Regions from separate parts of the Homo sapiens genome. Here region 1 is linked to region 2. The links are contacts of gene promoters, found by promoter capture Hi-C in blood cells and fetal thymus (Javierre and others, 2016). All regions are on one chromosome and are shown on one strand. Each heading gives the region's core, a stretch centred on a gene start or on the middle of the fragment in contact. The rest is flanking DNA. Distances are from core to core; before and after follow the strand shown.

Region 1 (2,700 bases), core at 34-2,533, 3.5 Mb before region 2:
CTGGCTTGTAAATTTGTCCGGGTGAGCTGTTTTTATTAGTATGGTCACTGAAAGTATGGAATCATCAGACAGTAAGCAACCATTGGTAAGTGAGGCAGATGATAAACCCTTATTTAACTCTCCATTTATTATTTGGTTACTGATTTGCCTGCTTGTACTAAAAACAAAGATTTACTTTACTCAGGAAGGAAATAAATTTCTCTCTTGTTTTTTATTTTTGTTAAATAATCAGTTATGAATAAGGGGCATCAGGTCAACATTTCATATATGCTAATGATTGATTGGATAAGAGAGTTCTTTTCTTTAGACCTTCACCTTTGATTTCTAAATGAAAGGTGCTTTCAAAGACTGGCTGCCTGAAATAACACATGATGAATTTACATTACTCTATGGTTTCTTCAGGTAGGTGTGAATGCTTCTTATCAGGTGTGCCAATAAGTCATTTTGTCAAATGTGTAATTGAAACGTCAATGGAGTGGATGAACTCTGTGTAAATATTCAGCTCATCATGTAGTAGCAGGTAATAGAATCATTATTTTGCTAGATTTGAGCTATAGTGATTGGATCGAGGGACACTTTGAAACAGGAGAAAATCACTAACATCATTTGACATCATTCCACTTGGAAGTGGAAAAGTGATTCTATGTAAGGAAGACCTCTCTCACTCATTTCAGTCATCCTTAAATCATAGCATTATATGTCCTTGGAACAACTTTGTGTTCAGTTTTTGCAGTAAAGTCAGATAGGCTTAATGTCCTTTTAATTACCTTATGAATTTCAGGTAGTAGTTGTAAATTGATGTCTTAATATTTACTGTTAGGGAAGTTTCGTTTACCCTGCATACTTCTGGTCTGCAATTTTTAAAAAAAATTTATTGGTCATTCCCAACACTTACAATTCATACATTTTTAATTAAGTCCATGTTTTTGGTTTCAAGTCCATGTTTTTGGTTTCTTTAAAATAATGAACAATATGACAACACTGGCTCTGTGTTTATACAAACATAGATTGGAGTTACATAGCAGCTGCCACATTTAGACAGAAGAAGAAAAGTTCTTCGGTCTGCCACATTCTCCTGTCTTTCTTAATTTTTGCTCTGAGATTGCTAGCCTCCATTTCTTATCATGCTTGCATTGTTGTATTTGTGATAGTAGAGCTAAAAGGGAAATAAAACATTTCCCATAAAAATTGCTTATCAGAAGTGGGAAAATGAAAGCCAGAGGGAGAAGATCATATGTTTTCAGAAACAGTCATGGGATTTTCTTGTGAAATCTGTTTTTTCTAGATTTCTTCCATCTACTAATCTATGAGGCAAAAATGTCCACATTCAAAACCTGCTCCAGGCGGCTTTGCTCCATGTTTCAAACCTTCTTCCTCCACCCATGTTTAGTATGGAGACCACCGATACCTTGCTTTGTGGCACTGATACCTCATAGACTCTCAGGGACACGATTGCTCTTTCTAACTATAAGAAGTACTGATGACAACTGCCAAAGCTCTCCCAGTATGCTTAGTTTTTCTTTTGCTTAGTTTTGTATATTTTCAAAGAAAATCTGTGATTTTTCACCCTGGCATAGAACAATTTACACCCTGATTTTGTTTTACAAATTACAGAGCGGATAGACATAATAGGCAATCCTTTTGTGTGTGTGTGTGTGTGTGTGTGTGTACAGTATTTCATGATTCTTTACCTATCATTCCTGGTCACTCTCTAGAAACTGTATTATGATCATATAGATTCTGGAAGCAATCAGACGTAGACTTCTAGTTCAAATGTTGCTGAAGACCTGAGTTCAGAGAAGGAAGATGGACAAAATTATAATCAGAGAGAAATGCTGCTTCTGTTATTTGTGAGAATTGTAATAGTGCAAGGAGTGAGATTAAGATGTTATTTAAAAAGGAAAAAAAATCTGGTTAATATAGTCCAAGTTCCCAAAGAGAATATATACTGCCAGAGTAAAAATAATAAATGTAAGGGCATTTTCCATTATGCAGTGAACTTGGCCTGAAAACACGGTGTAGAACTTGATTATATATACACAGAAATTATCTGTCTACACCAAGGACAGGCTTGGGGCTCTCTTACCAACGTAGCATTTATATATGTAGTCTCATCTACTTCCTTCTTCCCAACCCCATAACTGACTCTAGATCTTCCTGCTTTAACGGCAAGGTCAGAGATAACTAGAGAAGCAGCATCAGCAACTCTCAGGTCCATTTTTCATCACCAATGAAATGGAATAAAGCAGGTATAAGAGGAAGAAGGCAGCTAAGTGAAACAGATGACCAGGTTTTTAGCCTGTCTCTGCTTTACTTCTCAGGCTTCATGGAGCAAGTATCAGGTGAATATATCTTTATACACATGATATTTAACAACTTTGAAAGATATGCATCCCAGGGCATCAGTCTAATCCACAGACAAACTCCTCCCCTCTGAGGATGAATTAAGTGCAACCTCTGCAAAAACAACAACAACCCTAAGTTAAACATGTGTTTGTATGTGTGTGTGTGTACACACACTGATTATAAATTATATTGATATAAAGGATGTATAACACTCAATTTCTAAATAATAACAAAATATATGATAGTCTCCATTATAAATTCCACATTGCCAGTTGATTCTTATGGAACATTTTCATTGATTTTTGCCCAACTCTTGTATCTGTAGTGAAACTATGGTTGTAATTGATGGATGAG
Region 2 (2,700 bases), core at 3-2,502:
TGCCTACTCACGGCTCGTGTCTTCAGAAGCCAAGGGGTCGAGACCCTTAGCAGTGTCCTCCTGAGCCAGGATGTTCTGCAGGAAATCCGCTACCTGAAGCTGGCTGCAGAGCAGCTTGTCTTTCTTCTGAGAGTCCTGCTCAGAGGGAGGGCAGAGACAGGGAACATCCTTACCTCCTTACAGGTTTCCTTAAGTCTGCTCTCTGCCAGTGCTGCCCTGTATCTCAGTAAGAGGAGCCAGGACCAGACCCTGGCTTCTGAAAGGCTCGCTCTCATCTTGTACATACCACCACAAACTCAACCAGGATCTTGGCTGGCAGTTCTGCCTCCTCCTGCAGGCCTACAGGTTCCAAGATGCCTGCCACCTCAGCCAGGACCCTGGAGGGGCAAGGAAACACAGGAAATTGCAGTTTCTTGTGGTGCTAGTTCTACAGTTCGTGTGTGTACACAAACAAATGTGGATGTGTATATCAGTATATATAGTATTGAGAGTCTTGCCTTGACCAGAGTTTACACAAGGGCCTGAAGGGTCCACAGCCTGCAACCAGGAATGGCGTGCATGGAGGGCACACGGTGGTAATACGTGCCAAAAGGAAAATCAGCAGGGCTAGTGGATAAGGAGTTTGAGAAAAGAGCTGAAATTTTAAATAGGGAGTGTCTCACTGAAGAGAAATCATTTGAGTCAAGATGTGAAGGAAGCCAGGGAGATATGCAAGGAAGGGGAAGAATGCTGGGCCTTGGGATCCCTCCTGGCGCTGAGCACCAGCCTTGGGGCAGAGTCTTGGAATAGCTGAGAAAGGACTCAGGGCAGAGGGCTGGATGCCTCGGTCTACTCTAGGGTTTTTCATTATTAGGGACTGGAGCAATCTACGAAGGGGCAGGGATGGGGATGAGAAGTGACTGGGAATGTGTCGTGTTGGGACAAGAAGACAGAAGTGAAACCGTCTCCTAGAGCACATCCTGTGGATTATGTGGATGTGGGGAGCGGCGAACGGTCCCCCAAAGGCTGTACTCCTGGAGCAGGCAACAGACACCTCAGGAACCTAAGACGGGACTGCGGTGAGGATCACTTCACGGCAGGGTCGAACCTCAACAGCTGTACAGGGTCGAGGGCACCAATCATTACACATAGGGGCCCACAAGGTCCTCCCAGGCCCGGCCCCAGCTGCCACTTAGCCGCAAACACTTACTCTAGGGCTGCAGCTTCCGCCTCTGTCTCCGCTGCCTCCATCTTTCCAGGCGCCGAGTTCAGCTGCCTTCCCACAATCCCTAAGATTACTTTGAAGTCACAGTCGACTTCGCGCCGGGGCAGGCGATTGGCTGCAGAGGTTAGTGGGCGGGCATCAAGGACCATTGTGCGCTCTAATTGGCAGGCGCGGATTCGCTCGTTGGCGGGCCTCGCTGCTTGGCGCAAGCGCGGTTATGGCTAGGCGCGCACGGGCTCTGCGCCTGCGCGCTAGTCCTTACGCGGTGCCAGAGACTATAAGTGGGCTTGAGCTCGACCGCGCGCCTGTGGAAGTTCTTTCTCTACTCGAAAAAGGGAAAGCATTTCCTTGAGTTTGCGTTTTAAGGGAAACTTACAGCATTGACACTTTATTTAAAATATTCACTACTGCTGTAGAAAAAAAAAAACAAAACCCCGAAAAACAGTGGGGCTGTTTCTAAGACGCTGGGAATCAGTAAAGAATAGTGATCCGGGAGATACAGGAAGCAAATGATCTGCGCTCAAAAAGCGAGCTGCTTTCAAAGATATTAGTATTTTATAGATGCGATGCAGGAGAGTGAACTCAAGCAGAGCCCAGCCGATTGCCTGCGTTGGCAAAATAGAACAGATATTCTGGGGAGACCAAGGTAGGTAATGTTCTTTGCAGAGTACAGGAGAAAGATAACTGCTGAGAGAGAACTTGGTATTCATTCAGCTGAGTACTGAGCAGTATGTGTCTCAAGAAACTAGCTAAAAGATTTTTAAAGATACCAGGACATGGCCGGTCGCGGTGGCTCACGTCTGTAATCCCAGCACTTTGTGAGTCTGAGGCAGGTGAATTACGAGGTCAGGAGTTTGAGACCAGCCTGGCCAACATGGTGAAACCCCCGTCTCTACTAAAAGTACAAAAAAAATTAGTTGGGCGTGGTGGTGGGCGCTTGTAATCCCAGCTATTCGGGAGGCTGAGGCAGGAGAATTGCTTGAACCAGGGAGGCTGAGGTTGCAGTTAGCCGAAATTGCGCCACAGCACTACAGCCCTGGTGACAGTGCGAGACTCCGTCTCACAAAAAAAAAAAAATACATATATATATATATATAAATATATATATATGGACATTACAGAGGGTCAGAAATAGTCTCTATTTCCACTAACCAGGCTGGAAAACTTCATAGTCCGTAGGACACTGGACAGAGTACACACAAAAAAGTCTTGATTTGATAGTTGTTTACTAATTATTTAGTAGGCAGTAATTAGTCCTAGCTGATCAGTGCTGTAGTGCCATCTAACTCTTAAAAGTAAGACCCAAATGGATCAAACTTAACAAACCATGACAGATGACAAGACCAAACTTCAGCAGTATTTATAGAAATAGAAAAATGTTCACCAAAGGTGCAATTTACATATGTCATACAAAGAAAAATTACCAAGCTTGCAAAAAGAAAAAAAAAAACACATAATGAGGAGAAAAATCAATTGCTGATCAGAACTGAAGTAAT

Evidence for each region. The method cuts DNA at HindIII sites, captures the fragments that hold promoters and counts their contacts. A CHiCAGO score of 5 or more calls a contact.
Region 1: a fragment that was not itself captured here is called in contact with the fragment with the promoter of ZWINT in region 2 in 1 of 17 cell types (fetal thymus); the score reaches 10.3 in fetal thymus.

The regions. Positions count from the first base shown.
Region 1 is chr10:52,820,560-52,823,259 of GRCh38, forward strand. No RefSeq gene overlaps it. Among named protein-coding and RNA genes, the nearest start is that of MBL2, 49 kb to the left of the region's middle. The HindIII fragment of the contact is 7,997 bases long and covers 1-2,700 here.
Region 2 is chr10:56,360,007-56,362,706 of GRCh38, forward strand. ZWINT (ZW10 interacting kinetochore protein) reads right to left here and starts at 1,253. Exons shown (of 9, transcript NM_007057.4): 1 at 1,190-1,253; 2 at 287-377; 3 at 12-135. The coding sequence starts at 1,230. It overlaps LOC124902546 (a long non-coding RNA gene), which reads left to right and starts at 1,453. Exons shown (of 2, transcript XR_007062372.1): 1 at 1,453-1,850. RefSeq lists enhancers at 1-337, 1-223, 963-1,702, 1,051-1,220 and a silencer at 1,311-1,520. The HindIII fragment of the contact is 11,189 bases long and covers 1-2,630 here.